Linked DNA regions of Homo sapiens: regions 1, 2, 3 and 5 are each linked to region 4. Evidence: promoter capture Hi-C in 16 types of primary human blood cells and fetal thymus (Javierre and others, 2016). All regions are on one chromosome and are shown on one strand. Each heading gives the region's core, a stretch centred on a gene start or on the middle of the fragment in contact. The rest is flanking DNA. Distances are from core to core; before and after follow the strand shown.

The links. The method cuts DNA at HindIII sites, captures the fragments that hold promoters and counts their contacts. A CHiCAGO score of 5 or more calls a contact.
Region 1: a contact is called between a fragment that was not itself captured here and the fragment with the promoter of ETS1-AS1 in region 4, in 11 of 17 cell types (total CD8 T cells, activated CD4 T cells, naive CD8 T cells and 8 more). The highest score is 23.5, in total CD8 T cells.
Region 2: a contact is called between a fragment that was not itself captured here and the fragment with the promoter of ETS1-AS1 in region 4, in 11 of 17 cell types (non-activated CD4 T cells, activated CD4 T cells, naive CD8 T cells and 8 more). The highest score is 35.7, in non-activated CD4 T cells.
Region 3: a contact is called between a fragment that was not itself captured here and the fragment with the promoter of ETS1-AS1 in region 4, in 2 of 17 cell types (total CD8 T cells and non-activated CD4 T cells). The highest score is 5.6, in total CD8 T cells.
Region 5: a contact is called between a fragment that was not itself captured here and the fragment with the promoter of ETS1-AS1 in region 4, in 9 of 17 cell types (activated CD4 T cells, total CD8 T cells, non-activated CD4 T cells and 6 more). The highest score is 13.2, in activated CD4 T cells.

What each region holds. Positions count from the first base shown.
Region 1 is chr11:128,636,041-128,638,740 of GRCh38, forward strand. No RefSeq gene overlaps it. Among named protein-coding and RNA genes, the nearest start is that of ETS1, 50 kb to the left of the region's middle. The HindIII fragment of the contact is 2,906 bases long and covers 1-2,700 here.
Region 2 is chr11:128,615,593-128,618,292 of GRCh38, forward strand. The region is part of intron 3 of LOC105369568 (a long non-coding RNA gene); the gene reads right to left. Among named protein-coding and RNA genes, the nearest start is that of ETS1, 29 kb to the left of the region's middle. RefSeq lists enhancers at 1-103, 237-737. The HindIII fragment of the contact is 6,898 bases long and covers 1-2,700 here.
Region 3 is chr11:128,441,880-128,444,579 of GRCh38, forward strand. The region is part of intron 1 of LOC124902789 (a long non-coding RNA gene); the gene reads left to right. Among named protein-coding and RNA genes, the nearest start is that of MIR6090, 79 kb to the right of the region's middle. The HindIII fragment of the contact is 6,754 bases long and covers 1-2,700 here.
Region 4 is chr11:128,524,727-128,527,426 of GRCh38, forward strand. It overlaps ETS1-AS1 (ETS1 antisense RNA 1), which reads left to right and starts at 1,416. Exons shown (of 4, transcript NR_120581.1): 1 at 1,416-1,589; 2 at 1,807-2,692. All of the region lies in intron 3 of ETS1 (ETS proto-oncogene 1, transcription factor), which reads right to left. The HindIII fragment of the contact is 5,425 bases long and covers 1,015-2,700 here.
Region 5 is chr11:128,459,833-128,462,560 of GRCh38, forward strand. ETS1 (ETS proto-oncogene 1, transcription factor) reads right to left here. Exons shown (of 10, transcript NM_001143820.2): 10 at 1-2,728. The coding sequence ends at 2,529. Among named protein-coding and RNA genes, the nearest start is that of MIR6090, 61 kb to the right of the region's middle. The HindIII fragment of the contact is 1,598 bases long and covers 673-2,270 here.

The sequences.
Region 1 (2,700 bases), core at 89-2,588, 110 kb after region 4:
AGGGAAATCGGAGGTGGGTGGGGAGAAGGGGTTCCCTGTGTGCAGTGACCACATGTTGGTGGCATAAGCAGTATGGCTGAATATAGCCAACTGCAAATAACTGACCTTTGGTACAAGGTATTTTGGTGCCCAACCTGAGCCAGGATTTAAGACAGAATTTGGACTGGCCTTTAGGAAACAAAAGGGCTGCCATGGCTCCCCCTGTGATTCCCCGCCTTCTCCACATCCTCTGTCTCCTGGAGTCTATTCCAGATGCTCCATCTCCCTGTTGGGAGCAGTGGTGAGAGGCTAGGCTGGAGCTCAGCAAGTTAGGTGCTGAGGGCATGAAATACAGGAAAAACTCACTCTCAGTGCTGTGCAAGGTCAGGTCACACTACCTGCTGCCCTGAAAAATGGCCATGCTAGGTGTGTCAGGGCTCCCTGCTGCACAGAGAAGAAAACAAACATGCCACCCAATCTTGGAACTCACAGGCTAATGCTGACAATATTTTAGTAACAGGCATAAAAGACAACTGAACAGTTATAGGTTGGTTTGTTTGTTTTTATCCAAGATGGCAGATTAGAGGCTTTTAGCATACCTCAGCCACTTGGAAACAGAAAAATAGAACATAAAGATTAACTCTGTGAGCTTCAATTCAAAAAGGAAAATGAGAATCTACCAGAATCATGGACACCCCAGATCTCAAAGAGGAGAATGACAGCAAACAGCCCCTGTGACGGCATCCGGCTGATAAAAGTGAGTGAAGCCCCATAAGTGAGAGGCAGAAAGCCTTCGTCTGTGGCTCATCTTTCCCCTGGGGATCTGAACAACCCAGGCCAAGGGATTGCACTTTGCTTCTCCTAAGCCCTGGAGCTAATTTGGGGAGATACATGGAGGTCCAGCGAGGTAAAGACACCAAGAAAAGCTGTAGACATTTTCTTAGACCTGGGACTGAGAGCAGGACACCATTTTTAATCTGGGTGCATACTAAGTCAGCCATTTCTTGGCAACCCAGCAGTCTGGCTGTGCAGGCATTGTAGTCTCAGGCCAGAGACTGGAGCACCTGCTCTGGAGCAGAGTAGGAGCCTCCACAGCCAGAACTGTGGAAGGCACCTCAGCAGTAGGTGCTGGAATTGTGCTCTCCCTCTTCACAAGCCTGGGGTGGGAGGAGAGCTACAGCTGCAGTTTCTCCTGGATGGTGAGACTTGTAGTCACAGCCAGCTTGGAGACCTGAAACTGATCTGTGTGTGCCATTGCTGGGTCCCCTACCCTGCTCTCCTGAGATCATAGTGCAGTCGGGCCCTTTCTACTCCATGCCCAGACAGATCTCCAGGCATTAGGAGCACTCATTCTCTTGGTTCAGCAGCCTGAGCTGCTCCACCATTCCTGGACATAAGATCTTAGTGCTATGGGGCTCTTTGCTCCTTGCCCAGGCAGGTCTCCAGATTTTCAGAGTACCTGCTAGCTTGATTCGGCAGCCTAAGTTGCCCCGCCCTTACTAGACATAGATTGTGGTAAAGTAAGACTCTGCTCCATGCCCAGGCAGACCTCCAGGCATTCAGAGCAACTTTTCTCCTGGTTCAGCAGTCTGAGCTGCCCTACCCTTCCTATGCAGAGATCCAGGTGCAAGGGAACCCTCTCTGCTATATGCCCAGGAAAATCTCCAGGCATTCAGAGCACCTGCTTGCTTGGTCCAGCAGCCTGAGATGCCCCACCTCTCCTGTTCAGAGATTTTGTTTCAGGGGTACTCTCTCTGCTTCAGACCCAGGCAGTTTCAGGCATTTGGAGTAGTGCTCACCTGGATCAACACCCTAACTAGTCCTATCCTTCCTGTGCAGAGATCCTGGTGCAAGGAGGCCCTCTTTGCTTCGTGTCCAGGCAGATCTCCAGGCATCTGGAGCTCTCACTCTCCTGGATTAGGAGCTTAGGCTACCACACACCCCCATCCCTAAGCAGAGAACTTGGAGCCAAGGAGGTTTTCCAGCTCCATGACTAGACACACCTCTGGGTGCCTGGTGGCTACCCACTGGATTATCCCTTGGCACTGGTGCTTATGCCTGCCATTAGGGGAACTGCAGGAGGACCTGCCTGGTCCAGCCCTACACTTTGTGGCTCCCGCCCCTTCAAGGCTGAGCAGGGAGCTCAGACCACTGGACATTCCACAAATCAGCCCATTGCCTGAGGCAACAGAGAGCTTCTCCCAGTAAACAAGGATCAATATATACCCAACCACATTGCCCGCAGGTGGTTCATACCTATAAATGCCATCTATAGGCTTGTAGGATGAGCTGCACAGCCCAATATAAAACCTGCTGGAAGGAGTGCATATGACTATAGAAACAAAGTCAAAAGACTCTACCCAGAATTCTCTACAGTCATGCCTCCTAGGAATTGAGGGAAAGAGAAAGGGAAAGAAAAAAAAAGAAAAATTGTATCAGTATAGGGTGAGAAAGAAAAAGAAAAATCCTACCTGCACGAAAATAATTACAAAAATTAGAAGTGCCAGCATCTCCAAATGAGAGAAAACCAGTGCAAGAATTCTGGCCCCATGAAAAATCTGAATGTAGTGACCACATCAAAGGATTGCACTACCTCTCCAGCAATGGTCCCTAACCAAAATGGAAACTCAGAAATACCAGATAAAGAATTCAAAGCATAGATTGCAGGAAGCTCATTGATATCCAAGACAAGGTTGTAAATCAACACAAAGAAATTTCTAA
Region 2 (2,700 bases), core at 79-2,578, 91 kb after region 4:
AGAGTGGCAGTCCAAAGGCCCACTGAGGAAGCACAGCAAGAGAGCGAGACTGATGGCATCACCTGCCACCAAGAATAGCAAAACAAGACGAGGACCAAGCATCAACATGCTAATTTCAGAGGGATCCGAGGGTTGCCCAAAGGCCTCTATCTCCAGAAGTTTCCTATTCAGGGGTAATTCCCTCCCTGCATCCCTGAAATTCCTGCCTAGAATTGCTGATTGGACAGAACTGCAAAGGCCGGGCATGGTTTCCAACACCAACCCGCCTCCACCCTCGGATTCACAAGCGCAAAGGGATGTCACCATGGGTCTAACCAAAGAAAAGTGGAATCAACCCTGGAGGGAAGGGGGTGATAACAGGAGTATTGTGGGGGAAAAATGGTCCAGGGAGTAGATACAAGTGACAGCCCTCAACAGTCACACTTTTCAAATAATTTTGAAATTCCCTTCTGATTCCTACACATCTCTCATCTGAAGATGCAGGTTGCTGAGGGCAGCTGGGCACAGGCTGGAGGTCCTGCTTTTGTACAGAGACAGCAGCAGCTGCCGTAGGGGGCCGAGGAGCACACAGGGAAGCCTCATCCACAGGTCCTGAAGCAACTCCCCCATCCCCTGCACTAGTGTTTACGGATAGGAAGGCCTGGGGCTGGGCCATGTGGGGAGGAAAGCCCAGGGTCTGGTCTGCCTGCTGCTGATAAGTAATTCCACAAGACAAGCAGAAGGAATCCAGACAGAGATCTAAGAACATCCAGATGCCCAGCGCAGCGGGCCCAGTTCCTGAGCCATGACAGGCTTTAATGTGCGCCCCAGCTCTTGGGGACAGAGGCCTGGCTGCCGGCCCTTCTGTTCTCTGGCGCAGACCCAGGCCCCCTGACCAGGGGAGGGGAATACTGGCTCCCTCTTCTCCACACTCCGAACACATGGCCCAGGCCCAGGACAGTTTTCAGAATTGAACATGAGCTGCTTAGTATGTACTTGATCATTTAAATGAGGTGTATGTGCAGGACCCTGTGCCAGGTACTTTAGATACTTCAATAGATTTGATCCTCACAGAGGAGCAAGCTGAAAAATAATCTCTATGGTGTCACTGAAAGGCAATCAGAACAGACAAATAAGAAAATGAGGCTCAGAACAATGAAGTACTTTTCCCAAGGCTGCACAGCTAATACACGGCCCTGCTGCATTCCCATCCAGTCCCTGCCACAGCGTCCCTGGGCCTGAGAACACAGCCCGCCACCGACACCAGCTTCCCGGACATCTGTGGAGAAAGAGAATACTCAAACATTAAATGCAATTTTCCTCCTTCTAAAGCATTTTGCATCAAGAAAGAAAGGGAGGGGGATCTAACAAAGCCGCAGACCATGTATCAAAAAGCACAGCCCAAACATCTCTGGGTCCTCACTTCCCTGCATTCTCCTTTCTCCAGAAAAACAGTAAATTGCCTACTTCCTTCTCCTGTGAGTTTGACAGAACAAAGAAGCACAGGACAAAAGCAGGGAAGGATGAAGTGACAACCACAGAACTATGGCTAATCAACTTGCCCCATATCAGAAAGGCAATGACCAAAGCAAGGTCTTTCCGTGTGCCTGGGAAGAGGAGCTGCCCAGGGGAGGGGCTCTCCTTCCTGACTTGAGACCACTCATCATCCTGCCCGGCAGATGGGATAGCAGCACCAGGAGGTGGAGAGAGGCAGAGGGAGGAGAGGAAAGAATGGAGTGATGGTGAATGAGGGAGAGAATTGGGGAAGAAGGGGTAGGTCCAGAAGGCCAGGAGACCAGGCATGTTTACTTTGAAGTTTTCTTCTAGCCCCCAAGTCTATGAGGTCTGGTGATTATGGGAGAAAGGGTGATTAGGGGAGAAAGGGTGATGATTAGGGGAGAAAGGGAGATTAGGGACTCCAGGGCTTTCACTGGGAAAAGCCAAGCATGAAAGAAAAGGAAGCCTCTAGGTCTCTAGGGTTAGGATAGACAAGGAGCAGCTGAGAGAATGTGGAAAGCAGAAAATGGGGATGTGAATACATGAGAGAGGCTCTGAGATGACTAAAAGAGAAAAGTCACCAAAGTCACCAAAGATGGAATAGTGAGCGGAATGGAGGTAGGCAGTGAGATGCATCTATAACTCACCTTATTCCTGTCCTCCACCTCCTGGGCCAAGGCAGGGGCACACGATTCTCCAGCCTGGGACCCCAGCTGCCCCTTTCATAGCCGCAAAATCTCTTTGCAAGCTGTGGTTTGTGGGCCTCTGTAGTGCCTGAGTTCCCCACTAGCCCGAGCTCTATGAGAAAGTAGGTTTGTCTCACGCCCCAGGTTGGCACTCAGGGGTCACTGGTTGGGTGGATGGACAAATGAATGCAGGGGGCTCTTTCATCCAACGTGACTGATCCTCCACAGGTCTCTTTCAGGGGTCCCAACCCTACTCCCCGCCAGGCTCTGTGCTGTGTGTGGGGGGCTGCTTCTCTTCCCTCCTGATTTCCAGCTTTGCCTCCAGATCTGTCTTAGAGATGAGAAGCACAAGGTCGGCAGAGGTGTGGTCTTTGCGTTTGTCTGCTGCCTCCAATCTGTGCCCCGGCTGGGGGAGGCGGGGAGAGGGATGGGAGGTAGGAGGTGGAGAAGGGGCTCTATGAATACTGGAGGAGTAGAGAATTTTAGCCAGAGATTTCTTTTTTATTGCAAGGAATGGGAGAGAAGGTAGTGGGACAGC
Region 3 (2,700 bases), core at 114-2,613, 83 kb before region 4:
AATAGTTTCACAGTGTACAATAAGTTAAACCCTATCAAATTATGCGTTTTAATTTGCACAGCTTATGATGTATCAATTATACCGCAGTGAAACTATTTAAATTTTATTTAAAAGAAGGAAAAGGAAGAACAGATATTTAGATGCCAAGAAATGACATGAAAATATTTATATGTACTTATGTAAGTAATAGTTACTCTTAATGTGTCGATTAATTTGGTCTTTAATGTTAAGAGATAAAGTGAAATACAGAATTAAGTGGGATTAGTTAGAAACCATTTTAGAGAAAACAAGAAACAGTGCTCACCATTGTAAACCAAGAATCTGGTAAGATCCATCATCTGTAAACAATTTACTCCGAGAAATTATTTTTTCCTTGTAGTGGTTATGGGTTTCCCTGAGCCATTCACACTCTAACCCAATGACCTTAAATTTTAGGAAAATAGAGGTGCATTTTGTTGCTACTGGGAATAGAAAAGCTAACTGGGCTATGAATGACTTGAGCTTGTGGTCTTGGCCTCATTAACACTGGACAACAACCAACTGAGCTAATCAGCCACTGCTGACATTACAGAGAAACTTTATTGAGGTATAATTAAAGTACATTAAACCATACATGTATAAAATGTACAATTTGATCAGCTTTTGAATACGTATATACTCATGAAACCATCACCACAATCAAAATAACAAACATTTAATCAACTCCAGAAGTTTCTTTGTGTCCCTTTATAATCCATTATTCCTGCACCTCCATCCTCAGCAACTGCTGATCTGTTTTCTCTCAGGACAGAATAATTTGCTTTTTTCTAGAATTTTATATAACTGCAATAATACAGTTTGTACTATTTGGCTTGTTATATTTTAATATCTTTAGAAACTAGATATGCCCCCTCTCTCATTTTTGATATTGGTAGTTTGTCTTTTCTCTTTTTGTGCTAATAAGTCTAGCTAGAAGATTATTGATCTTTATGAGTTTTGCAAGGAACCATCTCCTGATTTCATTGATTTTTTTTCAATTGTTTTTCTGTTTTCCAGTGCATTTATTTTGGCTCTGATCATTTCATGTCTTTTCCTTTCTTTGGGTTTTATTTGCTTTTATTCTTCTAGTTTCTTAAGGCAGAAGCTGAGTTCATTGATTTGAAGATGTTTTTCTTTTTTAATATGAAACCTTTTTGTTCTATAAATGTTCCCCTAAGTGCTGCCTGAGCTACATCTCACATATTTTTTGTATTTTGTTTTCATTTTCATCGAGTTCCAAATACTTTCCAGTTTCTCTTTTGATTTTGTCAATGATCCATGAGTTATTTTAAATATTATCTTGAGACTACTTGGGATATCCCAGATATCTTTCTGATACACTCATTTCTGATTTAATTCAATTGTGGTTACTGTAGGACAGATTTTCTATTACTTGACTCCTTTTAAATTTACTGGGATTTGTTTTCTCATTCAACATATGGTCTCTCTTGGGAAATGTTTCATTAATACTTAAATAAAAAGTATATTCGGTGGTTGTTGTTGTTGGGTGCAATGTTCCGTAATTGTCAGTTAGGTCAATTTAGTTAATAGTGTTATTCAAATCTTCTAAATACTTATGGACTTTCTGTCTATATGTTCTATCAATTACTGAAATCTCTGACTATAACTGTGAATATGTTTGTTTTTCCTTAAGTTTTGCTCCATGTATTTTGATGCTCAGTTATTATATGTGTAAATATTTAGGATTGTTATATCATCTTGATGAGGCGACTACTTTATCATTATTAAATGGCCCTCTTTATCCCTGGTAATCTTTGCTTTAAAACCTACTTTTTAATATGAATATAGCCTCATTAGCTTTATTTTGATGAGTATTAACATTGTATATAACTTTTCATCTTTTTATTTTAATATGTTTGTATATTTAAAGTGCATTCCTTATAGGTAACATATAGTTGAGTCTTTCTTTTTATCCAATATGACACCTCTGACTTGACTTTGAAGTGTTTAAACTTTTTGTATTTAATGTGAATATGTATATGATCGGTTTTAAATTTACCAGCTGGCTAGTTTTTTCTGTTTATTCCATCTATTATTCTTTGTTCCCTTTTTCCTCTATGCTTTCTTTTGGGTTAATTATACTTTTAAAAATATTTCGTATATCCTTTGTTGTATTATTTTAGTGGTTGATATAGTGTCATTGATTACGTCTTTAACTTATCACAGTTATCTTTCAAGTAACATTATACCACTTTGTACATGCGTATTAGAAAACCTTGCAACAATGTACTTCCATTCTCTGTCTCCTGAATTTTATACTACTGTTGTCGTCATACATATTATTTTTATTTCTACATATGTAATAAGACCTATATTACATTGTTTCTGTGTTTGCTTTAAAAAACCAAGTTTTCAATGAAATGTTTAAAATGAGAAAATATATTTGTCTACATAATTTTTTTTCAAGGCTCTTAATTCTATCCAGTATATCAGACTTCTATCTGGTATCATTTTTCTTCTGCTTGAAAGATGTCTTTTATCAGGGATGCCCTCTCTTACCACTCCTATTCAACATAGTGTTGGAAGTTCTGGCCAGGGCAATCAGGCAAGAGAAAGAAATAATGGGTATTCAATTAAGAAAAGAGGAAGTCAGATTGGCCCTGTTTGCAGATGGCATGATTGTATATTTAGAAAACCCCATCATCTCAGCCCAAAATCTCC
Region 4 (2,700 bases), core at 166-2,665:
ACAGAGCTCAATAAATATGTGTTGAATGATGAACTATCAACTTTTTGGTCACTATGGGCTTCCTAATTCAATGATTAAGTGAGTTTGATATGCTCTGGCTTGTGAAGATGAACTAAAAAGTGTCAGAGGCTGTGCCCTTTTCCCTTCATAGTAGAGCAGAACCTCTATCCCCAGCACTCACGTCCACTCGGTTACATGTATGCCTCAGTGTCCCCACCAGCCAAACAACAGCAGCCAAGCGTTGCCTTTCATCCACTTGGGCAAGATACTTCAATACCATATCTGGTTTTTAAGGCACTCAGGAAAAAAAAAAATCAATCAAATAAATACTTCTGTGCTTGTGCTTGTACTGCAGCAGTCTGTTCCTCCTGCATTTGGGAAAAAACAGAATTGTATTTTTAAGCATTCCTTAGACTTCGGCTAATTATATCCTACCAAGTGCTGAATTGCCTTACACTAGGAACGTGAAGTCAATAAGGGCCAAGAAAAGTCCGCAGGAGTTGGGGAACAGAAGAGTGGAGCTAGACAATAATATTAAGAAAATAGTCACCTTCATACAGGAATTCCTCAAGCACATGGAGTATGTAAAAAGCATACTTTCTTTTTTATTTATACTCCTCCCTCAACTCCACCCCAACTTCAATAAAAAAGAAATATAAATATACACTTAATGTTGAACAATCATGGAAGACAGACTTTCCCTCTCCAGAAGTGTCCTAGCATGTTATCTACTCCTGAGTCTTGAACTTCAACAAAACAAAGAATCTCTGAGTTTTGAGCTAAAATATGCTTTACTGAAGGTAGGTACAAAAACATTCAGACCACTAACGGCTGATCCAGAACCAGTTTATGACTCACAGATGTTGATTTACTGGTATAAATGTAAGATTTAGAAAAAAAAAAAAAAAAAAAAAAGCCCTCAATTAACAACAACCTGTCTGAGCTGCATTTGTGGTCTCATTTTTCTCTGAGAAAAGGCAACAGTCTCTGTCATACACAGAAACAAGCTTTGAAAGCTTACTTCTAAGGCAAGTGGTTTCTATGTGAGAAGTTTAGTCATTAAAAGTCACACTAGGGAAGAAAAATGCCTGGCACTTCAATATCTACATTATCAAGCAGCAATAAAATGGAAAATTAGAGATAGGAAGGAAAATTAAAATAACTCTCTTAATTAAACTTGGATGCCAAAAAGCCTTAGGGTCAGTTAAGGGACCCAAGCCAGGGGACTCAGATGGTACTGTTGCTGACTGCAGGCTGGCTCTGTGACCTCACCAAAGCCACTTAACCTTTTTGTGTCACAACCTCATCTCTGTTTCAGGGAATAAAATCAGCCCTAGCTCTCCCTAGAATGGAACACAGACTCATTGGCTATTGTTTAGAAGGCACAATAAACAATGAGGGTAGGAGGAGCTGCAGTCAGGAGGGAAGAAGGGAGGGTGGGGTGGGGTTGGGGGAGAGGGGAGGACTTGGGAGCCTGTTTGCCCTGGAAAGCTCAATATAAGAAAACAAAGAGGATAGTAGTGTGGGCTTTGGAATAAGACTCAGGTTCAAATTCTTACTCTACCAACTAGCCAGCTGAATTGCCACAGGTAAGTCATTTAAACAATCCCGAACCTCAGTTCCTCCATGTTTCAACTAGGGATAATAGCAGCACACACCTTTTAAGGCTATTTGAATGATTAAATGAGATAATGTATGCAAAGAATTTAGCACAGTGTCTAGGTGAGAATTAGTATTTGATTATTGTTATTAAGATCTAGTATACGGTAGAATATGTGGGAAATCACATTAAATGTCTGTCTACAGCCATCTCTTTGCAGAATAGCTTGGATGCTCAATTTTCCTGAACGATCTCCAGCGAGAGATAGAACAACTATCACCACATTTCATTTAAAAATCTCTTCAAGACCCTTCCTCAGTTCTTAAACTGGCAACCTGCCCAGCATCAGCCTCACTTGAGAAATTCGAGAACTACCTGATTGGAGAAGAGAACTAGATTTATATTTGTTTTGAGTCACAGAAAAGTGACAGTTTAAATTCTGAAAGAAGATCACATTTGTAGTGCCTCTTTGGAGACAAAACCTTAGGTCTTGGATTTGTCACATGTTAGAGCTCAATGGGAGTTTATCAGTGCTCTCCAAGTCCAGCACTCCTATTTACCAGAGGTGAAAAATGAGTGTGAGTGAGGAAATTATTATTTCCAGGGCCACACAATCTAAAAAAGTCAGTGTCAGTACTAGAACCAGATGCCCTGATAGCAGTTCTCTCCCTGGCATCTCCTTGCATTTACTTTGCATTTCACTTTGGCAGGAGAAGTACCAGACACCCTTGAGACACAAGACAGGATACAATGGACATGGGAGTAGATAGATGAGCAGACTCAATTTCTAGAAATCCAACTTCTCTACACTGGATGTATTGTCTTTGGGCAAATACATTGCAGGATAACCACACTATGGTTCCCTGTGGGAGACAGCTTGGCATGGGCTGTCAGGAGAGAAAGGGCCTGGGTTGGCTCTATTGCTGTCTGCAGTTTCTTTAGACTATAATTATGAACCATTCAACTGCATCTGCAGCCCCAACAATGTGGGGTGGATTGGCCTAATCCACAGACCAAGCGACATTTTAAAATCCAGCAGTTTAGACACGTATTCCTCTTGCAGCAAATCAAACATGGCTCAGACAGGAAGAGGTAAGGAG
Region 5 (2,728 bases), core at 222-2,721, 65 kb before region 4:
CTTTCTTATATCTTATCTGCTATAGGAACTGCAGGAGTTATACTCACAGAAGGAGAGTTTCCGGCATAAATTTAATAGGAACGGTGGATGATTTGAGAAAGTGATTTTATGCCTGGTTGCAAACAGCAAGCAATAATTGATACCCGGCCCTGGTTCTACTCTTACCCATTATTGAAATGTGGAAAGACTTACCTAGAAATCTAAGGTATTATTTCAGCTGCAGTTTTGCATGTCTGCAAACACACACACACACACACACACACACACACACACACACACACACAACATTCACACACATGCACACATTCACACACACACCTTTTGCCAGTGCCCAACAAAAATCACATAATCTAAGAGAAAACAATGTAGTCCAAACAGTTCCACCCAACACTCCCTGAGCAGCTCCTAAAATATTTTGAGAGCTTCATTAAGGCACCTGCATCCAAAAGATCAAAATAATACAGCTGGGATAATTCTGCCTTTGCTTTCCATATGGATGCTCCAATTCATCAGTATGGGGACACTCATGAATCACAGAGCTATGTTCCTGATAATTCTGGGTCTGCAAGAGGATCTGGGAGTAAATAACAATCAATTTTCTTAAAGATATGCTAGAAAGTAGTTAGTACTTCCAATTTCTCATCCAAATCCCAAAAAGGGCCAGCCCTGAGAAGCTTACCTGAAATATTTCTTTCCTTCTCTCATGGAAGTCCATAAAAGCCACCCCTCCTCCTTATCCTTTCAACTGGGCAACTATAGAGTGAGGGAGATTCTAATTGTATTAGGCACTTTTCCTCACTAGTTAGATGTTGACTTTTCCTCTAAAACTCCATTTTCAGATTCCCCCTCACAACCAGCAGAAAGATGACTACCTTGCTTGACTATGTTTGTATTTAAACCTTGGGGGAACTAAAAATCTATTCAAATCTCATGGACAACCTTATTTTCCTCACTGAACCTCCTTCCTTAGTTTCCTTTGCCTTCAAGTCATTCCTCTCTTCTGGAATTAACCTTCACTTACCCTGTGCCAAGACATCAGACCCAAGCAAGAGGCCCTGGCATCACCTGTGCCATTCATTTTGCATACACAGTCTCACCTGACATCCTACCGGACTAATTTAAATTCTTCAAAGGAAAGCCTTGCACTTCTCTTCCAAAGACAGCCAAGTCACATTTTATTGAAATGCTCTCTTAATTTCCATCACTTCTAAAACTCAGCAAGTCTAAACTCTTCAACTTAGGTCGTGTCTCAAGTTACTTTTTCACTCACCAATCAGAAAGCCGTACACTTCTCTCTACTGAATAACAGAGTTGGCGGTGAGGGGGTGCAAAAAATGGAGGACTCTTGGAAAATAAGACATAAAAGAAAAATTACAGAGTGTTAGTTTGGAACGACATGCATTCAGGACTTATTTCTTAGGACCTGAGGGGTAATGCCCATGCATACAGCTTTTATTCCAAGTCATCTATGCTACAGATATAGGACTAAGAAAGAACCAAGTCAATCTTCCTCCTTCGATCTCCCTTCCAGGACTTCAACAGTGCTCCTACGTTTACTGTCGTCCAAAACCAGGGATGCAAAATACATTCAGTTCAAAGACTTAATGCTTCTTAGCTCAACATTAAGTCCAAACCCCGAGAATCCACTGATAACAAGTAAGTAAAGGGATGTGCTAATTTTTTTTAATTGTAGATGACATTCACACACATAATTCCCCTGTACCCAAATCAGCATTAATTGTCCTTCTTATATAAGTCCCATGAATTTGGGATCCCTGATCTCAGTGAGAGCGTTTTGCTTTTCCAATGGGGTCTATATAAACAGTTTTCTTTCATTGTGACAGAATCCTCAGCCGGCAAATAAAAACAAACTTACATGATATTGCAATACTGAGACCACCTTAGAGCTTAAGACGATTTTTAAGAAAAAAAATACTGGCACAAAATTTAATAAAATAAATTTTAACACAACAACGGTTTTGGCCCCTCCCCACTGAAGTCCATCTTTGCTTCAAAACTAGAGTGATAGGTAAATAGTTCTCAGATTTTCAGTGCATCCCCCCCCAAAACATGTTTCATCCCACCCACCTCTTTTTTGCCCTCCCAGACCTAAAAACAGAAGCAAATTAATTGCCTTACATCAGTTTCATGAGTTCTGATGTGACAATGTCACTTGCTAATGGGTCCACAACTCAAGACACTTTTTCATGGATGATTTTTAAAAATGATTGGACACATTAGTCTCTTTCTCTGTTAAGCCAGAGCCTTCAAGCTTCTGAGAAGGCCCTTCTCCCTCTCCTGAAAATTTGCTCAAGAATTTCTGGTCCCACCCACCCCACAAGTCCTGGCTTTCCTTTCCCAACTGCGCACAATTGATTACAGCTGCAACTGACTTAGCTCCCACCCCTGAAGGTAAAAAATGAGTTCTGGAAAATAAAAAATAGAATAACAATTCAAAATTCAGAGTCCAACCAACACGGCTGTCCTTGGAAGGTCTCAGCAGGGTTTCCCCAGCCCCTTCAGTGCCATCACTCGTCGGCATCTGGCTTGACGTCCAGCATGGCGTGCAGCTCCTCAGGGGTGTACCCCAGCAGGCTCTGCAGGTCACACACAAAGCGGTACACGTAGCGTTTCCCCGCTGTCTTGTGGATGATGTTTTTGTCGTAATAGTAGCGTAGGCCACGGCTCAGTTTCTCATAATTCATCTTAGGTTTGTTTTTCCTCTTTC